3 separate regions of the Homo sapiens genome follow, and all the other regions are linked to region 3. The links are contacts of gene promoters, found by promoter capture Hi-C in blood cells and fetal thymus (Javierre and others, 2016). All regions are on one chromosome and are shown on one strand. Each heading gives the region's core, a stretch centred on a gene start or on the middle of the fragment in contact. The rest is flanking DNA. Distances are from core to core; before and after follow the strand shown. Region 1 has its middle 3.8 kb from the start of RHBDD2. Region 2 overlaps POR (cytochrome p450 oxidoreductase). Region 3 holds the start of SRRM3 (serine/arginine repetitive matrix 3).

Region 1 (4,215 bases), core at 1,188-3,687, 330 kb before region 3:
TCACCAGTAGAAGTCACAGGTATGTTCATACCATGTTCCACTTATAGAAAACTCAAAAAAAATCATTTATGCTTCAAAATTATGGTAGCTATCAGGCCTGCTGTTAGATCTTGTTATTTAATGCATCCATAAAGCAGCACATAGAGTATGGTTTTTGTTTTTGTTTTTTTTTGAGATAGAGGTTTGCTCTTGTTGCCCAGGCTGGAGTGCAATGGTGCAATCTTGGCTCACCGCAACCTCCACCTCCTGGGTTCAAGTGATTCTCCTGCCTCAGCCTCCCAAGTAGCTGGGATTACAGTTGCCCACCACCACACCCAGCTAATTTTTTTGTATTTTTAGTAGAGACAGGAGTTTCTTCATGTTGGTCAGACTGGTCTTGAACTCCCAACCTCAGGTGATCCACCTGCCTCAGCCTCCCAAAGTGCTGGGATTACAGGCACGATTTTGTTTTTATTAATATTTTGATAACTACAGGCTTCCTTGGTAATTCAGTGTATTTTATTTTATCCATTTAAAAAGCAACATTCTTGGCCAGGTGTGGTGGCTCACTCCTTTAATTCCAACACTTTGAGAGACCCAGGCAAGAGGATTGCTTGAGGCCAGGAGTTGGAGACCAGACTAGACAACATAGTGAGCCCCTGTCTCTACAAAAAAAAAAAAAAAAAATACAAAAATTAGCCAGGTGTGGTGGCACGTGTCTGTAGTCCTAGGTACTCGGGATGCTGAAGCAGGAGGATCGCCTGAGCCCAGGAGTTGGAGGCTGCAGTGAGCTATGATTGTACCAGTGCACTCCAGCCTGGGCAACAGAATGAGACCCTGTCTCAAAAAAAAAAAAAAAAAAAAAAAAGCATCATTTACATGAGGAGTCCCTAGGTTTCATCAGATATGTCAGATATGACAAAAAGGAGTAAGAACTTCGGCCAAAAGCCAAAAAATTCAAAGAGCCTGCCTGCCTGCCTCCCTTCCTTCCAGACATTTCCTGAAGGCCTACTCTGTGCAGGACTCTACATGGTGCTGTCCCTCAAGAAGCTCACAGTCTGGGAAGAGAGACAGACACAACAAACAGGATTTTTTTAAAAATATTTTTTTAAATATAATAGAAATGGGGGTCTCACTATGTTGTCCAAAGGCTAGTCTCTAACTTGTGGGCTCAAGCAATCCTCCTGCTTTGGCCTCCCAAAGTGCTGGGATGACAGGTGTGAGCCACTGCACCCAGCCTTTCTTTTTTGTTTGTTTGTTTGTTTGTTTGTTTGTTTGTACAGACAGGGGTCTCACTATGTTGCCCAGGCTGGTCTCAAACTCTTGGGCTCAAGTGATCCTCCTGCCTGGGCCTCCCAAAGTGCTGGGATGACAGGCGTGAGCTGCTGTGACTGGCCAAAAACCAGGAAGTAAATACCGTGTTATACTTGCCATGGTAGAGATGTGTGTAGTGGTAGAAATAGAACAACCTGGCTGGGCACAGGGGCTCACGCCTGTAATCCCAGCACTTTGGAAGGCCAAGGCAGGTGGATCATGAGGTCAGGAGATCGAGACCATCCTGGCTAACATGGTGAAACCCCGTCTTTACTGAAAATACAAAAAAATTAGCCAGACGTGGTGGCGGGCGCCTGTAGTCCCAGCTACTCGGGAGGCTGAGGCAGGAGAATGGCGTGAACTCGGAAGGTAGAGTTTGTAGTGAGCCAAGGTCGCACCACTGCACTCCAGCCTGGGCGACAGAGCGAGACTCCGTCTCAAAAAAAAAAAAGAAATAGAACAACTTGGCCAGGTGCAGTGGCGCACGCCTATAATCCCAGCACTTTGGGAGGCCAAGGCAGATGGATCACTTGAGGCCAGGAGTTTGAGAGCAGCCTGGCCAACATGGCGAAACCCTGTCTCTACTAAAAATACAAAAATTAGCAGGGCGTGGTGGCATGTGCCTGTAATCCCAGCTACTGGGGAGGCTAAGGCAGGAGAATCACTTGAACCTGGGAGGTGGAGGTTGCAGTGAGCCAAGATCACGCCACTGCACTCCAGCCTGGGCGACAGAGTAAGACTCTGTCTCAAAAAAATAAAAAGAAATAGAACAACTTTAGAGATCTAATGACCCAAGTTCAAATCCTAGCTCTTCCACTAACTCACAGTGTGACCTCCTCACATCCTATTCGTCCCTCGGTCAATCTTATCTGTTTTCTTCATCAAAACCCTGCAAGATAAGACTTAGTTCCCATTTTATAGATGAGGAAACTGAGGCTCCCTTACCCAAGATCACTCAGGCAGCGAGTGAAAGAGCCAGGGTGAGGTCCTGCTTCCTCCTGACTTCCAGCCTGAGCTCCACCAGCTCCACACTGGCTGCTTCTCAAATGCTAATGTAGGAGCCATTAATGTCTCCTTTAAGGGAACATTAAAGGAAATGGCCAGTATAACATGGTATTTATCTCCTGGTTTTTGGCTTGGCTCATGCCTGGAATCCCAACACTTTGGGAGGCCCAGGCACGAGGATCACTTGAGCCCAAGAGTTTGAGACCAGCCTGGGCAACATAGTGAGACCTCTGTCTGTACAAACAACAACAACAAAAAGGCCCAGTGGGCTGGGCGTGGTGGCTCAAGCCTGTAATCCCAGCATTTTGGGAGGCTGAGATCTCAGGCGGATCACCTGAGATCGGGAGTTCGAGACCAGCCTGACCATCATGGTGAAACCCCGTTTCTGCTAAAAATGCAAAATTAACCGGGCATGCTAGCGCATGCCTGTAATCCTAGCTACTCGGGACGCTGAGTCAGGAGAATCGCTTGAACCGGGGAGGCGGAGGTTGCGGTGAGCCAAGATCACACCATTGCACTCCAACCTGGGGAACAAAAGCGAAACTCAGTCTCAAAAAAAAAAAAAAAAAGTGCAGTGTCTCACACCTGCAATCCTAGGTTTCCCTTAAGGGAAACGTGAATATCTCCTGCAACTGCCCTCTCCGAGCCTAAACCCTCTGCACAGCAAATGCAGAAAACTCTTTCTACAGAGAGCTAGGTGGGCTGACTGGCCATGCCATCCTAGACTGGTGTACCTCAGGTCTCCTCTTCAAAAAATATCTTGAAATTCTTGCCAGAAATTCAGTGTGAAATGCATTCGGGATGGTGGCTGTTGTTATAACAGTCCCCAGGGGTCTCAATTACGTGAGAACCCTCGGCTTCTGGACAAGAGACAAGGAAGGGAAGTAGGTCACATCCCAAAGGCATCAGGGCTAATAACTTTGCATTGAACATTTTCTGTGGCCCCACTGTGTGCTAGGTGCCAGGGCTGTGGATACAGACACAGGTATAAATCAGACATGGCTTCTGCCCTTGGTAAGCTCACAATTACGGGCACAAATATGCAATGATAGTATAATATGGGAAGTGCCTCAGGAGGCTGAGGCAGCGAACTGCTTGAACCAGGGAGGAGGAGGTTACAGTGAACAGACATTACAGCACTGCACTCCAGCCTGGGTGACAGAGCAAGACTTCGTCTCAAAAAAAAAAAAAAAAAATTCCTGGAAGACTTGTTGCCTAATTTTAAGTTACTTAACTTCTCTGTATCTCCATTGCTTCATCTGTAAAACGGGCGTAATTACAGAACCAGCCTCACAAGGGTTGTGAAAATGTAATGAGTAACTACATAAAAAGCACACAACAGGCTAGGCATGGTGGCTCACACCTGTCATCCCAGCACTTTGGGAGGCCAAGGCGGGACGATTGCCTAAGCCCAGGAGTTCAAGACCAGCCTGGGCAACAGAGCAAGATCCCATCTCTACAAAAAAGAAGCAGCTAGCTAGGTGCGGTAGCACGCACCTGTGGTTCCAGCTACTTGGGAGGCTGAGGCAGGAGGATACCATGAGCCCGGGAGGTCAAGGCTGCAGTGAGCTATGATTGTGCTACTGAAGCAGGACACACAAGCCCCAAAATTTAGCCTCCTTCCTTCAGAGCCAGCAGGAGCTTCTAAGCTATGGGGGGCAGCAGTTACAGCTGAGTCAAACCAAAGCCTGCAGCCAAGGGCAAGGAGCTGATAACACTAGGGTGGGTGTGTGGGGAAGGAGCCAAATACTTCTACCATGTGAGGGGAGGGAGTACTGGGCAGGGTCACTGGAGAAAGCGAAAAAGGTAGTACCCTTGAAGGTACTGCTGGGCACAGTGGCTCATGTCTGTAATTCCAGGACTTTGAGAGGTCAAGGCAGGCTTATCACCTGAGGTCAGGAGTTCGAGACCAGCCTG
Region 2 (4,448 bases), core at 772-3,271, 280 kb before region 3:
CCTCTGCCTCCCAGGTTCAAGTGATTCTCCTGCCTCAGCTTCCCGAGTAGCTGGGATTATAGGTGCGCGGCACCGCGCCCAGCTAATTTTTGTATTTTTAGTAGAGACAGGGTTTCACTGTGTTGGCCAGGCTGGTCTCGAACTCCTGACCTCAGGCGATCTGCCTGCCTCGGCCTCCCAAAGTGCTGGGATTACAGCAGGCGTGAGCCACCACGCCCGGCCCTTTAAATCTCTTTCCACTGCTGTGGTCTTACTGTAGCCCCTTGTCACTTCCTGCTGCGCTGACCCGTAATTGACCCATAATTCTCCCTCTCTTCCCCTCCCTACCACGTTCCAAGATCTGTCCATGGTACCATTGCTGGTTGATCTTGGAACCCTGCTTCGGTCACCCCTCCTTTCTCTTCGCCCAGACTGGAGTGCAGTGGCACGATTTGGCTCACTGCAACCTCCACCTGTCAGGTTCAAGTGATTCTCCTGCCTCAGCCTCCCGAGTAGCTGGCACTACAGGCACGTGCCTCCACACCTAGCTAATTTTTGTATTTCTAGTAGAGACAGGGTTTCACCATGTTGGCCAGGCCAGTCTCGAACTCCTGGCCTTAAGTGGTCCACCCAGCTCAGCCTCCCAAAGTGCTGGGATAATAGGCAGGAGCCACTGTGCCCGGTCACTGTCACTGTCTTATTGCATGTTTTCTTCTTCATCTGCTTTCATAAAGGATAAACAGTGACTTAATAAAAGGTGTCTAATTCTCCCCTCCCTAGTGGCAATACGGTTGGACTAGAAGGTGAATTCAGTTGAGAACAGGGAACCTATCATTTCTGCGAGTGTAAGCTGGGGCATAGAACAATGCCAGGCATAAGGTAGGCACTTGGATGAATGGATGAATGAATAAATATGGCTTCTGTCCCCCAAGTTTACTGCTGAGCTTTCTCCTGCATATTGACTGAGCTCAGATGTCAAAATTGGGTCTGATCTGTAGTTTTTTTTTTTTTTTTTTTTGAGACAGAGCCTGTCACTCTGTCGCCCAGGCTGGAGTGCAGTGGCGCAATCTTGGCTCACTGCAACCTCTGCCTCCTGGGTTCAAGCAATTCTCGTGCCTCAACCTCCTGAGTAGCTGGAATTATAGGTGTGTGCCATCATGCCTGGCTAATTTTTTGTAATTTTAGTACAGATGGGGTTTCACCATGTTGCCCAGCTGGTCTCGAATGCCTGACCTGAAGCAGTCTGCCCGCCTCGGCCTTCCGAAGTGCTGGGATTACAGGCGTGAGCCACTGCGCCTGGCCTGGTCTGTACTTCTGAAGATTATTCCAAAGTACAGTAGGAACTTTTGGTAGGACTTTAGTTTTCCATCCAGGTATAAAATTTTGTGTCAGTGGTGGGGTTGCGCATGTTCAGTAGCTGCAACACTAGAAAGATGGCAAAGCAGGAGCAAAGAAAAATCCCTTTGGCTCCAGAAAATCTCCTGAAAGCAGAAGGCTTATCAAGGCCTCAAAGCCACCCAGTCAAAGTAGGCACTTTTGGCAAAGGAGGAGCAGAGGGAAGGAAAAGAGCTCAGGTTTAAACGACTGGAATCATTCCTACATGATTCCTGGCGGCAGAAACATGACAAGGTGTGTCTCAGACGACTAGAAGTAAAACCTCACACCTTGGAATCGCCAGATAAACATTCCTTGGCCTTTGTTGTACGCGTCGAAAGGATTGATGGTGTGAGTTTACTGGTGCGGAGAGCCATTGCAAGACTTAAACCTAAAAATGCAGCGTATAGTATGTAACCTTATGTGACCTGGGGATTTCCAAATCTGAAGTCTGTCCAGAAACTCATTTTGAAACGTAGACAAGCCAAGGTCAAGAATAAGACCATCCCTCTGACAACACAGTGATTGAGGAGCACCTGGGAAAGCTTGGTGTCTTTTGCTTGGAAGACCTCATTCATGAAATTGCCTTCCCAAGGAAGCATTTCCAGGAGATCTCATGGTTCTTGTCCCCTTTCCACCTCTCAGTGGACTGTCATGCTACCAAAAATAGTGGACTTTCTGAAGGAGATTGGCACACCTCCATCTTCTTGGGGGTGTGTGCATCAATCAGCTCATCCGCCAGCTGAACTAGAGCCAGGTGCCAAACTACAGTAAATTTTTATCAATGAACTGGAAGCTTGTGTTATTTTTGGGGGCGGGGTGGAATTTTTATCAAGTATCTTCAGAGAAGATTATTTCCTGCTTTATCTTCAAAAACTGTAAAGGAAGGGTCAAAGGAAAGACAGTGGCTGGCCGGGCCCGGTGGCTCACGCCTATAATCCTAGCACTTTGGGAGGCTGAGGCGGGCAGATCACCTGAGGTCGGGAGTTCGAAACCAGCCTGACCAACATGGAGAAACCCCGTCTCTACTAAAAATACAAAAATTAGCTGAGCGTGGTGGCACACGCCTGTAATCCCAGCTACTGGGGAGGCTGAGGCAGGAGAATCGCTTGAACCCGGGAGGCGGAGGTTGTGGTGAGCCAAGATCAGACCTTTGTCCTCCAGCCTGGGCAACAAGAGCGAAACTCCATCTCAAAAAAAAAAAAAAAGAAAAGAAAAGACAGTAGCTTACGTTCATGGCGGCACCTCTCATCACAGTCCAGTTCCAAGGAAAAATTCCAGCGTTTTCTACGTTGGCTGCTGCCTTGTCTGAAATCACATTTTGTGGAGAAAGGAGTCTTGCTTTGTTGCATCTTCTATCCTAGGGTTTAATGTTGGTGAATGAGTAACTCTAGCATTTGTACAAGGCTCCCTAAGAGTCCTGCAGCAGTCGACCAAGCCCGGGGACATAATTGAATCCGGAGATTCCTGGGGCCTTGAAAAAGGCTTGAAATATACATAGGAAGAAAGGCACAAAAATAAATGCTCACTTGTCTCTGCAAAAAAAAAGAAAAGAAAAATTGTGTCTCAAGTTCCTTCTGTAGTTGATAATTTATTCAGTAATCATTTTATAATTGAAGAAGAATATTCTGACTCTAAATCTTTCTAGATCAGTTACCTGGATGCTGAAGACATGAATAAATTTGTTTATTTTAAAAATCCTAGGGCCTGGCACAGTGGCTCATGCTTATAATCTTAGCACTGTGGGAGGCCGAGGTGGACGGATCACTAGAGCCCAGGAATTCAAGACCATCCTGGGCCACATGGCAAAACACCATCTCTATTTAAAAATTAGTGTTTTTAAACATCAGTGTTTAAAAATTAGCTGGGTGTGGTGGTGTGTACCTGTCATCCCAACTACTTGGGAGGCTGAGGTGGGAGGATCACCTGAGCCCAGGGAGGTTGAGGCTGCAGTGAGCCATGATCAGACCACTGCACACCAACCTGGGTGATAGAGTGAGACCCCCATCTCAAAATATACAGTAATAAATGAAAAATAGAAAATTCCCCAAATAAATAAATAATAGAAAATTCTAATGAAAATAAAAGGAGTTGAGTGTAACCGTTGAGTGTCTGCGCTGGGTGTTTATGTCTCATGTAACCAACGTAGCACTGTGAGCATGGTCATCCCGGAGACGGACTGTGATAAATCGTGTGCCCAGGATCCCAGAGTGCATAGGTGGCATATCTAGGTTTTGAACCAAGGTCTGTTGGTCTTTTATAGCTCAACTGGGTTGTGAGTTTGTTGAATTTCACTTTCCATGCTTTCCCCAACCAAACCAAAAACCAGAGGGGGAACTGAAAGCTGAGAGCCTAGTAATTGAGAAAAGGACTCTGGGAGGTGATGGTGTCAAAAAGCAGTCCAGGGAAGCTCTTGTGGTTGAGCACACAGCTCTGCCCAGAGCTTCCTAGATGCCAAGGCAAAGAAGGATGGGGTTACATAGCAGTTATTGGAAAAAGGAAGCTGACCAGTTTCTCATTAGTATTTTTCAGCTGGGCGCGATGGCTCATGTCTGTAGTCCCAGCACTCTGGGAGGCTGAGGCAGGAGGATCACTTGTGGCCAGGAGTTTGAGACCAGCCTGGGCAAGAGAGAGAGAGAGAGACCCTGTCCCTTCAACAAGAAAATACACATTTAAAATATTAGCCAGGCATGGTGGTGTGCACCTGTAGTCCCAGCTACTCAAGAGGCTGAAGCAGGACGATCGCTTGAGCCTGAGAGTTCAAGGCTGTAGTAAGCTATGATTGCACCACGACACTGCAGCCTGGGTGATGGAGCAAGACCCCATCTCTTAAATTTTTTTTAAAAAGTGCTTTTCCCTGGGCCTTTACACGAGGATCATTGAATAAAGCAGTGGTCAGCAGCCCATGTACTCAGCAAGTATTTGTAGAGCACCACGTATGTGCCAAGCTCTCTTCGAGGTGCTGGGACTACTTTTGTGTGTGGAAAAGACCAACAAGATGAAAGATGATGTTGGCCTAGGCCAGGGTGGAGGCACTGTTTTCAAGAACAGGAGTGTTCCCACAGGTGACCCTTTCTGGGTCCCATCTAGGTAAG
Region 3 (3,887 bases), core at 1-2,500:
TGTTGTTTTTGTTTTTTTGTTTTGTTTTTGTTTTTGAGACAAATTGAGGCTCTGTCACCTAGGATGGAGTGCAATGGAGCAATCTTGGTTCACTGCAACCTTCGCTTCTCAGGCTCAAGCCTTCCTCCCACTTCAGCCTCCCAAGTAGCTGGGACCACAGGTGCATGCATGCCACCACATCTGGCAAATTTTTGTATTTTTCATAGAGACAGGGTTTCCTCATGTTGGCCTGGCTGGTCTCAAACTCCTGAGCTCAGTGATTTCCCACCTCAGCCTCCTAAAATGTTAGGATTACAGATGTGAGCCACTGCATCCAGCCAAAATTTTAAAATTTAAAAAAATAATTTAAAATCTCCTGTCTCCATTAGGATGTCTCTCACACTACACCCTCCTTTTTTTTTTTTTAAATTTTTGAGATGGTGTCAAAAAATGACAGCCTCTGTCATTCAGGCTGGAGTGCAGTGGCGCCACCATAGGTCACTGCAGCCTCAAATTCCTGGGCTCCAGCGATCCTCCCACCTCACCTCCCTGGTGCCTTTTATTTTATTTTATTTTATTTTATTTTTGACCCTAAGTCTTGCTCTTGTCGCCCAGTCTGGAGTGCAATGGTGCGATCTTGGCTCACTGCAACTCCGCCTCCCAGATTCAAGCGATTCTCCTGCCTCAGCCTCCCAAGTAGCTGAGTAGTTGGGATTACAGGTGCCTGCGACCACGCCTGGCTAATTTTTGTATTTTTAGTAGAGACTGGGTTTCACCATGTTGGCCAGGCTGGTCTCGAATTCCTGGCCTCAAGTGATCCTCCCGCCTCAGTCTCCCAAAGTGCTGGGATTATAGGCGTGAGCCACCGCGCCCAGCCCCTGGTGCCTTCTTTAACACTGGGTGGGAAGAGAGTGTCCTGGCGAGGCCTCTGCACACCGACTGCATTTCCCAGATCCAAACTAATAACCTCCCTTGCCCCAGGCGCCTTCCAGGGCTGACATGCCTCCTCTCGCAAGTGGGGGAAACAGATGTCCCCGGGGGCTGGGGATAGGGGCGGGGGTGTGGGGAGGTGAGGGGCGAGGGGAAGGGGGGGAGGGGGGCGAAGGGGGCGGGGAGGAGGGGGAGCCGGCCGGGAGACGGCCCGGCCCAGCCGCCCGGGCTGTTGCCTCCGCTGCGGGCGTTCCTCCAGGCCTGCGGAGGGCGCTGCGGGCGCGGGGCTGGGCCGCTCTGGCTGGCGGGCGAGCAGAGAGGCGCCTCGGTGGCGGTGCGCTGTCCAGCATTTCAGCAAGCGGCGGCAGCACCCGCGGGGAGGCAGAGGGTGCGGGGCCGTGGGGGCCGCGGAGCTGCCCTGCCCAACTCAGCCCAGACTAGGCGGCAGCCCGGACCGGCGGGACCCGAGGGCCTGGCCCCAGCGCCCGGTAGATCGCGGCGGTCAGCGGTGAGGTGAGAGCGCCTGTGGGGCGGGGGCATATCCCCGAGGGGCTGGGGCTGGGTGGAAGCTCGGGCCTCCCCAGCACCCCCGTGGTCTGCAGGCTCCCCCGAGCAGAGGGGCAGTGTGGGAGGTCGGCGAGGGCGTCTGTCCGGGGGTGCCAGGCGCCCGGGGAGCAGAGATGAGGAACATTCATTTCACTGAGAGGGATGGAGACAGTGGAGACCTTTGGGGTCATGGGCAGGACTCCCCTGGGCATAAATGACCATGGCCTAGTCCATGAGGGTGCCAGGGAGGCCCCCCAACCGCAGTCCCACTGAGGAGAAGGACCTGCTCCCCAGGGAAGGGAGGACCGATGCAGTAACCCTGTGGAGATGCTGGTCACTGGCCCTGGTGAAGGGAGCAGGCCCCCACCTGGATGCTGGGCCTCTGTCCAGCAGGAGGTGCCGGCCCAGGGGACAGCCTGGCCCCTTTCCCGGCTACCCAAATGCCCCTAGGGAGGCAGGAGCTGGCAAGGAGAACTGGGTCTCACAGGATGGCATTTACTCTTGCACTGGGAAGAGGATGGAGGACACAGAAGAGAAAATAGCTACTAGGAATTTGGGAGGGGGTTCTCTGTGCACACCCCCCACCCCAACCACGGACGCCCAGAGAGAGTTTCTAGCCCAGAGTTAGACCTGCGCCAGAGTGAATTCCTGGTAAAGAAGAGAGCTGAGAAAAGACGCAGCCTCTGCCTTGCCTCCGCCTCCCCCTCCCTCCCAGGGCTCCTGCCTGGACAGTGTTGAAGCCTCCTGCAGTTCCTACTCCTGACAGCAGATCCATTGTGGGGAGAGATTTAGTGGGAGGAAGGGAAGGTTGTACCAAGGTCTGACGTGGTACTTCAATGCCTGTGCCCTATCCCAGCCATAACTTCTCGCTGTCCTAAGACCTCACTCACCCTAGCATCGGGGGCTTGAGCTGGTCTTTTGTCCCATGGCAAGAGAAAAGGCAGGTGCTGGGCTTTGACGGAGAGACGTGCACAAGTTCCTCTGTCCAGGGAGCATCTTAAGGTCATGGCCCCAGTTTGTGCCAGCTTCTTCCTCAGTCAAAAATAGGACCCAGCTGGCTAGGAAATTGTTCCCACACAGCAGTAGCTTTCTGGTTCCTTAACTTTATGCCCCATCCCACTCTCCTGTGGGGTGGAGGAGGTATTCTTGAAGACTGACTAAAGAGTCAACTGGGTTTTAAGAGGTAGGGGTATGTGGGTTGGGAGTCATGGACTCTGATGTCAGAAAGACATGGGATCAAATCTAGGTTATGTGACCTCAGGTAAGCCATTGACCTTTCTGAGTCTGTTTTCAATCTGTAAAACAGGTGTAGTGTTAGCAATGTCTACTTTGCTGTTGAAAGAAATAATCTGGATAAGGAGATGGGAGACTACTTTTACGGTATAAAATGCTGGGTGAGTGTTAGTAAATAGGAGACAAGTAAGAATTTCTTAAAGAAGAGCTGGATAAATGTGGAATAGTGTTCAGTGATATTTGAAGCACATTTTTCTGTTCCCAGAGGAGATGAACAGTGGTTGAGAGCCTCATGCCCAGCTCCATGCTGGGCACAATGCAACGGTTGACTCAGCTAATCCTCACAGAAGCTTCATGAGGAAGGCATCATTGTCCCTATTTCATAGCTGAGAAATGAAGCTTGAGTGACTTTCCCAAGGTCATGAAGCCACTCGCGCTGTCCTCCTGGAGGCAGGAGAGTTACTGATGACCTGTCCCATCCTCTGAGTATCAAGGCCCAGTTCAATGCCAGTGTCTTGATTTATGATGCCAGCTTTACAGGTGGGGAGCCTGAGGCAGGTGGGTGAGGGCATACAGTGCAGTAAGGAGGTGACTCCCACAAGGTCACTGGGATACTTAGAGGTAGAATGTGCCTTGAACCGGCCAGCGGGGTGCCTCTACCCCGTCACACCTGCCAAAGGGGGGGTCTGGGTCTGACAGTCCCATCTGCTCACTGCTGCACCCGTTCTGCACCTCCTCTGCCTCCCAACCTCTTGCTGACCTCTGCCAGCCAGTGACTGCTCCTTCCTTTCTTAGTGGTTCACCCTCACCTCCTGAGATGGTCCATGGCCAGGAGCAGCTACTAGCGCTGCTGGGGTCAGCCTCCCTTCCTGACTTTTCTCCCTCCTCTGCCCATATTTTATTGTCCCCCAGGGACAAAATCATAGCTCTTCCTGTCTCAGAAGCCTTCCAGGGGCACCAATGGGGAGGTTAGAGAAGCCCAGCCCCTCTTTCTTCACTCCTACACATACACTGAGCCTCTGCCCATGGTCCTGTAACTTCGTATACATGATCTCATCTCATCCTCACATAACCTGGACCCAAAGGTGCTGCTGTCTCCCTTTCACATAGGAGAAAAACAAGGCCTGAAGGTGTGATGGGACTTTCCCAAAGTCACAGAGCAAGGTCTTGGTGCAACCCAACCCCACTGCCTCAGGACC

Evidence for each region. The method cuts DNA at HindIII sites, captures the fragments that hold promoters and counts their contacts. A CHiCAGO score of 5 or more calls a contact.
Region 1: a fragment that was not itself captured here is called in contact with the fragment with the promoter of SRRM3 in region 3 in 2 of 17 cell types (M0 macrophages and naive CD4 T cells); the score reaches 6.0 in M0 macrophages.
Region 2: a fragment that was not itself captured here is called in contact with the fragment with the promoter of SRRM3 in region 3 in 1 of 17 cell types (endothelial precursors); the score reaches 5.1 in endothelial precursors.

Annotation. Positions count from the first base shown.
Region 1 is chr7:75,873,094-75,877,308 of GRCh38, forward strand. No RefSeq gene overlaps it. Among named protein-coding and RNA genes, the nearest start is that of RHBDD2, 3.8 kb to the right of the region's middle. The HindIII fragment of the contact is 6,386 bases long and covers 1-4,215 here.
Region 2 is chr7:75,921,343-75,925,790 of GRCh38, forward strand. The region is part of intron 1 of POR (cytochrome p450 oxidoreductase); the gene reads left to right. It also overlaps the pseudogene RPL7L1P3. Among named protein-coding and RNA genes, the nearest start is that of MIR4651, 8.4 kb to the left of the region's middle. The HindIII fragment of the contact is 251 bases long and covers 1,897-2,147 here.
Region 3 is chr7:76,200,646-76,204,532 of GRCh38, forward strand. SRRM3 (serine/arginine repetitive matrix 3) reads left to right here and starts at 1,251. Exons shown (of 15, transcript NM_001110199.3): 1 at 1,251-1,422. RefSeq lists a silencer at 1,098-1,337. The HindIII fragment of the contact is 9,812 bases long and covers 1-3,036 here.